Linked DNA regions of Homo sapiens: region 2 is linked to region 1. The links are contacts of gene promoters, found by promoter capture Hi-C in human tissues and cell types (Jung and others, 2019). All regions are on one chromosome and are shown on one strand. The core of a region is centred on a gene start or on the middle of the fragment in contact, and the rest is flanking DNA. Distances in the headings are between cores, read along the strand shown.

Region 1 (6,661 bases), core at 2,173-4,672:
TCATGATCATTCACTAGTGACCCCAGGAGCACCACAATTTTCAGGCCCTACATACATGTTATAGGAGAGTGGACAGAGCTTGAGCTTTCATTTCAAGAAATTTATGTTGTCTTTGGATAATAAAAACATCAATGAGAATTGGCTTCCCTTTTGCTTCTCTAATACATAAAATAAACCAAATGGGCTTTATTTTATCAAACATTTATTGATTGCACAATGAAACAATCTCTCCTTTCAGATATATACATCAGTTACTAAAAGAGTAGATACAAAGGTCAGGAAGTAATTACAATGCAATGTGATAAGTTTAATAATATAGGTGTGACAGCATACAGAGGAGGGGGTGATTGGGTTTGAGGTGATGGTGGGATATTGGCCAGGTAATATTTCATGGACCAAGTGATGACAACATAGGGTTTCACAGATGGATAAGAGTCTTCCAAGTGTACCAGGGGGAAATATACATGTGTGGTGCCAAAACAGAGTATGGCATTTTCTGAAAGTTAGAAATTTATACAAGAGTATAAAGTTCAAGAGATGGATAAGTAGCTAGGAGGTAAGGCCAGAAAGGTAGGCAAGTTCTAGGGCCTTTGAGGCCATGGAAGAAAACGTGGGCTTCACCCTACGATGGTCGTGTTGGAGCTCGTGGCACATTTACAGAGCTTAACTACTCCTTTATGTATTTTTTCTAGAAGATGTAGACTCTTATCCATCATTTCAGAAAGCCACATTTTACTTTTTTGAATCACAGAAGGATGCAAGAAAAAATACCAAGGTAAATAAATACAAGCAGGGTCACCATCCTTTGAAAAATCTCTCAATATGGATGTTACTGATTGTGGGTCAGCAATTACGTCTTTGTATGTATCGAGAATAGCAATTCTATTTAAAACATCTGTAGACCATGGACTGTAGGTCGTATTATGGGAGATACCAAGAAAATCTGGCATGTCTGTCTCTCAAGAAGCTTTAACATTTTTAGCGGATGCAGTCAAGAATATAGCTAACTAGAAAAGGGAGATCTGCATTGAGAACCCTATCACACACCCAAACAGTAGAAGTATTTGTTTTTAATGAGGAGGGTGGGGCAGGGGGATAGGGGTTGTGGTCCAGGAAGGCATTGCTGAGTAGGTGCCATGTTTAACCATCATTAGAGTATTTGCTGGACAGAAGGAGAATTCCAAAGAATAGTTAACACAGCATTCTCACACTTGAATTGTACACACTTAAGGTGTAAGCAAAGTGGCTTAATAATGGTGCTTGTGCCTCCTATGGTATATTATTGTAATGTGAAAGAGGCTGTTTGTAATTGTAAGGAGAAAATCCTTTACCCAGGATTTCAGAGGTCTTGCTGACCCACTTCAGTTCCTCAGACTCTTCAAGTCTGCATCCCTTTCAACCCCTGGCTGCAGTTTTCAGCAATGGACTTCAAGAGTTGGGCGTTTTTTTTTTCTTTCAGCACATATCTACATTTAAGGGGCACAAAAGCAGTAGTGTTATGTGAATTGTGGAAAAGAATGTGAGAAGGTGTTTGGAGGGGAGGTTTGTAGGGATATACGTTTCTCCTTAGTCTTTTCCAAAATGTTAAAGTGAAATGCTCTTGAAATTAAAAAAAAAAAAAAAGAAAGAAAGAAATAATGACCTCTAGTGGCCATTTGTATCCTGTTGCATTCTCTTAGTAATGGTTCATTCAGCTTATGAATAGATCTATGTGGATTTAAATTTTATATAATCTTTTCTGTACACGAGGATAATAAAATGTAAGAGAGCATTTGTTCCAATCTTTTTTTCTTGGTTAAATTTGATTTCCACATTATCTACGGAAGTCTCATCAATAAATAGAAGTTAACCCTATGTACAGTTGTCAGCCTAAGGTTATGTTGTCTGTCTGACTGCTATGATTTTCTTGGCTTGATGCTGTGGTCTTTCTCCCTTGCATACATGGTAGCTTTTCTGTGAATTTTTTACATAAGAATATGTATATTAAGGGATCCATACAAATGTTAGTTGCTGCCAAAAAGAGAGTTGTTTCTTTAGCAATAAACAGTTGATTTTGCAGTCTACAGTCAGTCTTATTGTTGGTTTGACTGTGAGTATATGGAACTCTGGCAAAATGAAATGGAGCAAAACACACAAAGAAGACAGCCACGACAACAAATACTTTGCCTTCCAGCTTTTTGTTGTTTTTTCTGTCCTTACTTTTGGACTTTCTATAAGAATCATATACTTTTTTTGCAATAACCACATAAAACACAAGCATTAGGATAAAAACAGTCCAGAAAATAAACTGGCATATGTTATTTACCATTTGATGCCATTTCAGCCCCAGAGGCCCCTTTAAGGAAGCACACTTTTTCACAGACGATGGTGTTGCTTCCTTGTTGCTCAAGATCGTATTTGGCAGGGAGATGAAGAACAAAAAGAACCAGATGAAGATTGAGACCGTTTTTGCAAAAACAGGTTTTTTTAGAAAAATATTTCTCAAAGGTCTGATGATCTTGAGGAATCTGTCAAAGGCTATGAGCCCTAACAGCACGATGCCCACATACATGGTCTCATAAAATATCACCGAAGAAAAACGACACACAAAAGCTCTGAGCTGCCAGGGTGCCAGGTGTGAGTCAGAGAGGATTTTGAAAGGAAGCATGAGTGTCATTATCAAGTCGGCCACCAAAGTGTTTTTGAGGTAGATGATGAAGGTGGAGGAGCTGGGGATGTGAACAAACACCCACAGAGCCAAAGTATTCAGCAGGATGCCGGTCAAGAAAACCACTGTGTAGAGGGCTGGGAATACCAGCTGTACTATCCGAGTGTCTCTGGGGCACCGCTCAGATCTGTTGAAGCCTTGCATCACTGTGGTGTTCATTGCTTCCAGTGTCACCTGTTACCAATAAACATATATACAAACAAAAGAAAACAAAAAGCCCTTCATGATTTTCAAATGCTATTTTTTAAAAACAGACTTTATGTTTATAGCATATTAACATCCTGCATTTATCCAACACTTTCAATAGATGTGTTGAAAAGGAAAATACTGTTTTCTGGCTAGAATTTTTAAAGCATATAATACATTTTTGGTACTTTTAACAGTACCATTACTTTCACATCCTTGTGAAATCCAAATAACAGGTTCTGCCTCATTCACAGGTGCTACTGTTAGCCATAAAACAAAACACTGTTTAAGAGATAATAATACATTATTATTACTAATACATCAGATTGCTGTAAATTATGTAATTTCTTATGCTCATAAACTATGGTTTGTAGAATATTAACTTTAAAGCACCTTTTTTCCCTTAAGCATATTCTTTTATATAAGCAAGCACACTCATAATAACAAAAATTGAAATTCACCTTTGGGAGGATACTCAGTTCTCTCTGTCTTCTTATGGCGGCAGTCATTAGTTCAGCCTACAAATGAGCATGTGAAGCAAATGTTCTGCTTTCTTATAGTGGATTTCCTTCCTTATTTTTACTTATGTAATGTGACCCATTAGAACCTCTTCATATTTAGACCTTTGGGACATTTGCTAATACTCTATTTTAGTTCAAACTTTCATACTGTTAATCTGTGACTTGAATAAAGAAGCTTATTTGCAATTATCTTTAAATTTCTTCATAACTTTCTTGAAGTTTATCTTCTTGATCTGCATGTTCAGTGAACTTTTTGAGTGCCTCTTGTATATAGTGGAAAGTAGAAAGATGAAGAAAATAGTCCCAAATTACAATCAAGTAGGAGAATAAGACTACCTAAAATCAGACAGAATAATCTTCTGTATCCTTGTAAACTGGATTTTCCAGTAATTTGTGTTCAGGAAGACGGTATGTTTATTTTTGTAGGTATTTGACTTAGTCTTCTGGTTTGGGGATCTCTGAGAGTTAACATGATGTTTTCTGAGAGGTGAAGACTATTAGATCCAGATTTTTGGAGTTAGAATCCCAGTTCCACCAATTAATTGGGATTAGATTATAGATAAATGATTCAACAGCTCTGTGTCTCAATTTCCTCATCTGTGTAATGGGTTTGAAAATAGTATCTAACACACTGTGTTATTAAGAATGAATTGGTTGCCTGGAATAGTGCTTGACATATAGGAGGCACTAAAAAATGTTAGCCACTTTTAGTGGCTTTTAGTCCCATTGCCATGGGAATGAATTGCAAATCCAGATAGAGATATTATACTCTTTCACTTAGTAGAGGGCCATTTTTAGAAATCTTTTTTGTATTTGGTGTATTTCGAGTGCAGAGGACTTCAGGAATTTCATCAATCAACATTGGGCCAATATCTGTGCATTTTTTTTGCTTTAATTCTCTTCAAGTTTGAAAGATGTAATGGTGCTTTTGCATAGAGAAAGTTGTTGTCCATGGCAGAAATCTACTTGCCAGGTAGGCATAGGAAAAGCGGAAATTAGGAGATCTTACGGAGGATGTGGAGTTCATGGTGAGTTTCATTTCATGTTTCTTGCCACAAGTGTTACCATGGAGTTAGACGAGACTAGTGTTAGTTGATCACAAAGTTTTGGGTGACTTGGCTTTGAATTCTGAGAAGAAAAACTTAATATCCCCCTGGACATTTTAAAATATGAGGCAATACAGTGTCTAATAGTTTTGATTAGACTACCCAATAACGGCACAGTTTGAAAAATTTCTCTTTGACTGAAATAAATTAATCCTTGGGAGTATAGATTCAAGATTTCATTAATAGAACATACATGTATGTCTTAAACATAAATGTATATCTTTTTGTTTGCTTCAGCAGAGGAAAAAAAATCCTTTATTTCTTAAGTAGAGAAATTTAACCTACAAAATTAATTGTAAATTTTCCTATAGCCCCAAATCCATAATCTAAAGGAAGATCTGGAATAGTTTTTCTTTAAGCAAGATAAATTCTGTGCAGGATAATTTCATAATCTGAAAACTGGAAATCACTTCTTGGTCAAATTTCAAAACACTGAAGTGTGGGAAACTTTCCAAAGAGGAACTGACTTACAGTGCCTGTTTCTAGAGTTATGGAAATAGAGTCTCTTAAATGTGGTAGATGTCAAAGTGTTTGACTATAGTAAATATCCAATAGATCATTCATTTCTATGTGTTTGTGCTTCTTATGTATTAGCTGATTTTTCCTTAGTTTACAGCAGCACTATTGCCTGCTGGGGAGGCCTTTTGCCCTTGAAGACACAGCTGAGAAGCTGCTCAGCAGAATGTTTAGGCGCCAGAGTGCCTGGGCTCAATTCCTTTTTCCAATTCTTTCTTTTCTTATGACCTTAGGCAAGCTGCTTATGCCCACTATGAAATGGTTGCCTTATCTTTACAATAAAAATAAATAATAGTATTTGCTTTACAGTGTTGTTAAAAGAATAAAATGAGTGAACATTCACCAGTGCTTAGAATAATGTCTGTCATGTGGTAGGTATCATGTAGGTTTCTTGTTAAATGAAATTGAAAGAAAATTGGAATGTTGTGCATACATATGGTGATGTCTCACGAAAGGAGAGAAGAATCAAAGAAGATACAGTGAAAGATCCCAGAGGCTAGGAGCCTATCAAATGGGAATAAACTAAACATTTAAGATCCTATAGGGCTCTAAGGAAATGTAGTTAAAAATCAGTAAAGTCACACTAGCTATACTGTTTTAAGTGATTATATTATCTTATTTAATCCTTAACAATCCCCAGAGATTGGTCCCATTTTTAGAGTTGAGAAAAAAGGAAATGCAGAAGTTAAGCCATTTTCCCCATATCATGCAACCCAAATCTGCCGTAAAGTCACACAGTTGGTCTGGTTCCAGAGCCCATGCTTGGAACCTGCCTCACTCTCTTGCCTCCGATTAAGCCATAGATAGGGTGACAGTGGAATTGTTTGCCAAATTCTGGAGTTCTTGAGCTGAAAGTTCCTGATGTGTGAGAAGGAAACAATCAGCCACAATGTTTAATGGACTTGTGAAACTTTATGCCAATGTAAATTGAGTGAAAGCAGTGTGATCAGAAGGGATACAAAGAAGATAAAATGAAAAGTCACAGAAATCAGTCTCTAGCCAGATAGGAATAAACTACTATTTCCATTTGTAGTCTTATTTGGGATTTCTCAGTTGCATCAAAATTGACAGTCCAAGGCCCAGTACCATATAAATAATATGTGAAAAGATGAGGAAGTATTTGCTTTCATTTGGGATGAAAATTGAAGTAGGAACTCCTATACTTCTATACTCTTAGAAAAGACTTTTACTTCCCATCAAAGTATACCATGGTACTTTCTCAGATTATGTGAAATTGTTTTAAAAATTCCATACAAGAGTAACTAAAAGTGGTAAACTAAAAGTGGTAATAATAAGCTGAAATAAGTTATACTTTTTATTAATGTAACAATCTGTTTTTCTGAGTAAGAACAATAGTAGAAAATATCTACATGTAGCTAGAGATAGGCAATAAATTCACTGCTATTTGGAACATTTAATATTTCACACTATGTTTAAAAATTGAAATACAAACATATATAGTAGAAAGTGAAAGTTAATACATATACATACCAATATATGTGTACAAATATATTTACATTTATTTATGTATTGGATTTTTGTTTCATTCCATGTTAGTACATGTAGACTGACGTGATTTTTTTTTTAACTTTATTTTAGGTTCAGGGGTACATGTGCAGGTTTGT
Region 2 (6,655 bases), core at 1,524-4,023, 130 kb before region 1:
TTGAAACTGGTTGAATGGTTGAGGGTTATGTGTTCCTTTCTTGGGTAAACAGAGCTTTGCATGTCTCTCTCCCAGGTGTCTGGGTGTCAGAGCTGGACACTAAGCCTCAGCTTCTTTATTCTGTTGTTCCTGTGACCTTGGTTTTACAGCCTTTCCCTGCATTTAACATTCTACTTCCTTGGAAGAAAGAGCTTAAATGATTTTCAGTGACCACATGTCATAATGAATCATGAGATAATTTAACTATAACAATTCATGAAAGAACTGCTAGACAATTGATATTGTAGGATACATTTTTTAATAGCCTTCCACCACTGGTTGCCCTAAACTCCCTGTTACCATGAGTTCAATTCAGAAGAAGCCAAAGGATATGCTAATATAACACTGACTTTAGGAATGCTACTGTCTGTTTTTTTTCCCTTAATAAAAAGAGAAAATCTGACTAGCTTCTCATTGCATGTGAGGAGACTATAAAAATATGGTTAAGAAAAGTGTTTTCCATGTCCCCATCTGTCATATGGGGCCCTACTAAATGAAGACCAAAGAGAAGAGGACTAAAGGGGGCTTGACCAAAGATTCAGAAAAACAGTTTCATGATGCTATTCTGTGAATAATACTTGATCTGCCCATTAGTGAACCATGTTTCCTAGACTACCAGCAAACACAGGTTCTAGTGGATAGGCATTCTACAGCCTGCAACTGAGGTAAGTCATTTACACTGTGTCAGATGTGTGAGGCTGCTGGAGTTTCTGTCATTACCATTAGCTAGCTAGAATTGTATAGCATTATCTTGTTGTATGTTTTGTAATAGGCACTTCATGCATTTTCTCATTTATTATTCACTGCAGAGTCAGAATATTTTTATGGAATTGTAGATAGGATTTTCAAGCTTTAGAAAATAATTTGTGAAATGCAAAAATGAGTTTGGAATCAAACTTGTTTTCCTAGCTTTCAGGAACACCATTTCTTAATCATTGCAGCTAATGCAAATGGATTTACCAGCGGTTTTTATATGGGCTTATTTTACTAATGAAATAAAAAACACAAAGTCATCATGTATGCTTATCTAAATTTTTCCAATATTCTTTTTCCTAATAAGTCTTTTATTTAATGCTGTGTATTCTTTCTGCATCACCAGCAGTGGAGAGAATTTGATCAGAGTTGTGACTCTGAGAGCTGGAGTCAGCTTATACTTTATTGTTATTTATTTATTTACTTATTTATTTGAGACAGAGTCTCGCTCTTTTTGCCCAGGCCGGAGTGCAGTGGCGCAGTCTCAGCTCACTGCAACCTCTGCCTCCCAGGTTCAAATGATTCTCCTGCCTCAGCCTCCTAAGTCGCTGAGATTACAGGCGTGCACTATCACAGCAGGCTAAATTTTGTATTTTTAGTACAGAGGGGGTTTCATCATGTGGGCCAGGCTAATCTCTAACCCTTGACCTGAGATCTGCCCACCTCAGCCTCCCAAAGTGTGTGAGCCACCACGCCCGGCTGGAGTCACCTATACTTTAAACTGGGGCCCTACGTGGAGTCAGGCTCATCTTTCTGGACCTGGGTGGCACTGAGTAGCTCGGCCTGTGCTACATTCCTAACACGGCCTTGCTATGCGAAGTCAGTGTATCTGTTTTATAAAGACCATCTGACTGGTGCTGTTTTACCATTGATGTGCTATCGATGTGATTTTCTAGTTCCAAAACACTAGTTTCAGTAGTTAGTATAACTTAACAACTCCCTCTGAAATGTTACAGGGCCTCTGTGTTTCATGTTACTTCAAAATAGAAATGAGAAGTCACTAAATGTATTATTACTAACATCAGGAAGCCTTTATTATAACCTACAGGTAGAATATAATTACAAATAATACATTAAAGATTGTCTATATTTTTCAAGCCTTTTTATAAATAAAAGCTTTTGGTTATTGTGTTAGAAAAAAATTCGACATTAAAAATTGGAGGAATAATGAGTTGAAAGATTACCATCTTTTGAAGTGATAGATTAGAAATAAAATAGGCACAAGTTGTTATATGTAAGCTGCATTTTTTAAAAGTAATCTGAAAGGCTTTAAAATTATGTTGCTGGTGGGCTTTCTGGTAACTTACATGGAAATTATTTTTTATATTTTTATCAAGAAGTCAGTTCCAGGCATTTAAATGAATAACTCATGAATACCTTTGGGTCTATGTCATGGACCTCTTTTGGATTTCAAGGATATTGCAGGATTTTACATTCGTTCAATGAGACTCTTTAGTTTTTTGTACAAATATTTGGGTTAATGAGTAGCAGCAAGCCTAACAATAAAGCTTGACTTGCATTTAGAAACAGGATTTCTAAGTAAACCTGTCCATATTTGCTAGCTAACTGTATTTTTTCATACTGAGTTTTTTTTTGTTTTTTTTTTTTTTATCTTTCAAAGCTATAATTAACTTTATGGTCCAGTAAGGCCAGAATTGGTAGCACAAAAAATCCTGTCTTTTATGCATTATTTTCACATCTTAATTTTTCTTTCTGAGCCTTGGTCTCTTTAGGTGAGGCAAAAGTCTCAGTGACCTTTGAGCGGAATGCTTTTGAGAGGTGATAGTACAGGATAGGATCAAAGCACAGGTTCGACACAGCCAGGAGCAGTGTAGCCTCTTTGGCTTTGAAGAGTGAAATCCTGGTTGAGCAATCAGTTATGACTTCTGTCTGGCTGAGGGTATACGGGATTCGGACAATGTGGTAAGGAACAAAGCATATGATGTAGCCCGTGGTCACTAAAAGTATGTTGATGAGAGCCTTTTTCACATTTGGGTAATTTTCATTATCTTTGTTTCTGTAGAGCTGTCGAATTACAAGGCAATTGGATATTAAAATGATGGCTGAGAAATTTAAAAATATTGCTACACATATGAAATTTGTCAGCAAATGCCAATTTCTTCCAAATTCCTTTTTAAACTCCATACAACCCACATTTGACTTTTCCTTGATGTCTTTGATGGGAATCATCATATTTGGCACCATTATAAGAAGGACCATTAGCCACACAACGGTTGATATCATTTTGGCAAATCCGGGTTCTTGTATTCGGTAGATCTTGCAGCTGTGTGTCAGCTGAAGACAGCGGTCAATGCTGACAAATGCTAAGAAGATAATTGATAAATACATATTGATATAGATGAGGCAGGCTGTTACTTGGCAGTGGAATATCTTCAGCTTCCAAGGTGCCACACCCAAGTCAACAACAATTTTCACTGGTAATGCCAGAGTAAGCAGGAAATCGGCTGTAAGCAAATTAATTAAGTAGATGCTCACACACCTGTGATTCGTATTCTTCTGTATAAAAGCCCAGGTTGCAAAACAACTTCCAATAATTCCAACAAGGAAAACTAAATAAAAAAAATACGTGAATGGCTCCAGATCTTTATAAACTGGGCAGAAGAACGAACTGTTTGTCATCTTGAGGGAAAGTAAGGATGACTGCTTATTGAAAAGAAAAAATTTCTAAGACTCTGTAAAAGAAACAAGGAAAGGGAGGTTAGTAATTAAAATTAGCAACTATTTTCTTTAAAAGACATTGGTCTTCACAATACCGTTGTCTTTCCAGTTCTTAGAATTTTATTGGTGAACTTACCAGACCATATGGCCTGGTGAGAACATACTAGATTGTGAAGATGCCTGGGTTTTCCATTGTCTGATTTTGTGACTTTCAGGAAATCCCATGCAGGTTTGCTTTTGGTAGGGATATTTTCAACCTCAGGTTTTTCCATTCTGGTAGTTCTTGTTACCAGTTGGGTTGGAAGTTAGTTTGCAGAGGAGATAAGTGAACCGAGATTCTGAGAAGTAGAGAGAGGAAACTAGGGTTGTGGTTGAGCATGAAGAGCTTTCAATGAGGCCTTCTGGTTTTTTTCTTGTTTTAGTTTTTTGTTTTCCATAGATTCATGTGGCTCCTAAGGCTGGGAGAACCCAGGCTGACAGGGGAAGTAAGGAGTTGATGGAAAATCTCCAGCCTGGTCGCAAGAGTCTGTCTCAAAAACAAACAGAAAAAAACCAAAAAAACAAACAAAAAAACCCACAACTACCAGAACATGGATGTATGTTCATTGGTTACAAAATCCTTGGAGAAAGATTTATTTATATTAGTATCAAAACATCTGACTTCAACACTTGAGTCGCTTTTTTTTTCTTTCATTGTGGGTTTTGAAGCAGTTAAAAGCCCAGAAGCATAAGACATACCCTTAGAACTACTGTGATCACCACTGATAATGACAATGAAGTCTTGTCATGTCCCTCCCAAATCTGGAACATTGAGCGGGTTTGTAAGCTCAAGTTAAACTGATAGGGCTCCCTTTGACCTGGTCTATTCAAACTCACATGCTTAGAGCTAAGGGTACATTAGTAATCTTTCTGGTGCTGCCTGTTGGTGTGGGTCCCCCTTTTGCACATTAAACAGTGTTCTTTTGTTTTAAAGACCTGAAGATTATTTTTGTATTTTAGCAAGGAAACATTTTATATTATAATACAACCTTTTTAAAAGAAGCAAATATAAGTTATAGTGACCAACATTGAAGGCCAGATCAGCTACTCTGTAAGTGCCTTTTAATAAGAGAATAAAACTTCTGACATCTTTCTAAATTTTAATTTCCCCAATTAATTAATGATCCTTTGTGTGCATTTGTAATGAAACAATGTATGCAAACAGATGAATAAGGCAGATGTACACAAAGCTTTCTAAATTCAAGTGCTGCTTAAAGGCTACATGCCCTTTCTCTTTCCCTACCTGAGTTAGCACGTTAGAGTCCATGAATAATGTCATTCTTTACCAAACTCGATGAAAATAATTAAGCAGTTGGTTTGTATCTGGCACTATGCCAAATACTTTACATGTACTTATTTAACTTCTTATCATTTCCATAAGCTAGGTGTTGTTATTGTCCCTGCTTTACAGATGAGGAAATTGAGGCATAATGGGGTTACTTACCCAAGGTTGTGTAGCTGGTAAGATATAAAGCCAGGATTCCAGCTCAGTCAGTCTGATCTCAGAATCACATTCAAAACCACTCCAAAACACTGCCTCAGTAACAATAGTAAGATGATGATAGAAATGATAATGATTATTATTATATCTGCCAGTCTTTACTAAGGGCTTACTGTGTGGGCAGGAACTATGTTCTAAACAATTTTTATGTAATAAAGCTGAAATAAACTATTTTTAACTTTTTACCAAAATACTAAGAATATAAGTTTAGGCTTTTCGTATATTTTGCTGTTCTATGCATACAACCACGTGCACACACTCTCTCTCTCTCTCTCTCTCTCACACGCACATTTAAAAACAAAACCTAGGCCCATCCAATAAGTTTAAACCAACTTTGCTCTCAAAGCTTCCATAACCTAGTTTCTCTCTACCATCTCTACTTACATCCCAGATTAAGATTGGGATTGGTGGGGTCTCTATTATTCTGTGTACAGTTCCTTCCTGCCTTTATACTTTTGCATGTGATAGAAATTTTGGAGTCATAGGATTTTAAGGATGGATGGAAACTTTATCGATAGCCTGTAGTCTAATCCCCAAGTCAGTTGAGGAGATTGAGGGCTGGCACTGGTGTGTTCCTCAAGCTTTCACAGCATGTTCAGGCAGGACTAAGATCTGTTCTTATTGGTCATCTTCTAAGCGCTCTGCATTTATCCTTACTATTCCTGAATCCTGCTTATTCCAGAGCTTTAAGGAAGCTCCTCACATCTGAAAGCTACTCCAGGCTTTACCGATGTCCTTGGCGACCATGAATTTGGATAGTTACCATTTGTACCTTGGAATTTTGAACATACTTTTCTTCTTTATGTGAAAAACTAGTATTCGTGTGCATTGATATAGTGTCACATCTTTGCTTATTGTTACTTTCTAAGGCCCTAGGATTTTGGCTTACGCACTTCTATTTCAAATATTACATAATAATGGTAACATAATGTGTTTCTTTAAGTGCTCCATTGCTTGCACAACTATAAAATAAGTCTGTTGTATCAATGAGACGTATATGGTAAAGAGAAGAATTAGAGTAATTTATTTTGATTAATTTTCTCTGTAGCTAGAACTGACGATATATACCGTACATGAATAATTTATCTGAAATGAATAATCATTCAGTAATTCTCAAGAATCATGGAGCATCTCACATTTCTCACATTTGTGTTTGTGAACTTTTGTCTAAATTGCAGTGAGAAACAAATCTGTTTATTTAAAATTTTTGCTTATGTAAATTAGAGGTTAAAATATTGTATAATAACATCCTGTGTTCTGTGTCACAAGTTTGAGAACTAAGTGCTTAATAAATATTTTACCAGACAGTTACTTACCAGTGAAAATGTGAGATACTCAGAAGTAGTGCAGCAACAACAATACAAGATTTTAACTGTCTCTGTAGTTTGGATAGAGTGCCCATTGCTTAGAAAATAAATAAACTGGCTGGGCACAGTGGCTCACGCCTGTAATCCCAGCACTTTGGGAGGCTGAGGCGGGTGGATCACTTGAGGTCAAGAGTTCGAGACCAGCCTGGCCAACATGGTGAAATCCTGTCTCTACTAAAAATACAAAAATTAGCCAACGCGGTGGCGGGCACCTGTAATCCCAGCTACTCGGGAGGCTGAGGCAGGAGAATTGTTTGAACCCGGGATGTGGAGGTTG

Evidence for each region. Contacts are between HindIII fragments. The study calls those that stand out against the background at their distance.
Region 2: a contact is called between a fragment that was not itself captured here and the fragment with the promoter of P2RY13 in region 1, in 1 of the 25 tissues and cell types used here (hippocampus).

What each region holds. Positions count from the first base shown.
Region 1 is chr3:151,326,127-151,332,787 of GRCh38, forward strand. It overlaps P2RY13 (purinergic receptor P2Y13), which reads right to left and starts at 3,423. Exons shown (of 2, transcript NM_176894.3): 1 at 3,355-3,423; 2 at 186-2,881. The coding sequence starts at 3,402. The coding sequence ends at 1,865. The region is part of intron 16 of MED12L (mediator complex subunit 12L); the gene reads left to right. The HindIII fragment of the contact is 9,309 bases long and covers 1-6,661 here.
Region 2 is chr3:151,195,955-151,202,609 of GRCh38, forward strand. The region is part of intron 16 of MED12L (mediator complex subunit 12L); the gene reads left to right. GPR171 (G protein-coupled receptor 171) reads right to left here. Exons shown (of 3, transcript NM_013308.4): 2 at 4,955-5,043; 3 at 1,878-3,485. The coding sequence starts at 3,432. The coding sequence ends at 2,473. Among named protein-coding and RNA genes, the nearest start is that of GPR171, 3.9 kb to the right of the region's middle. The HindIII fragment of the contact is 6,790 bases long and covers 1-6,168 here.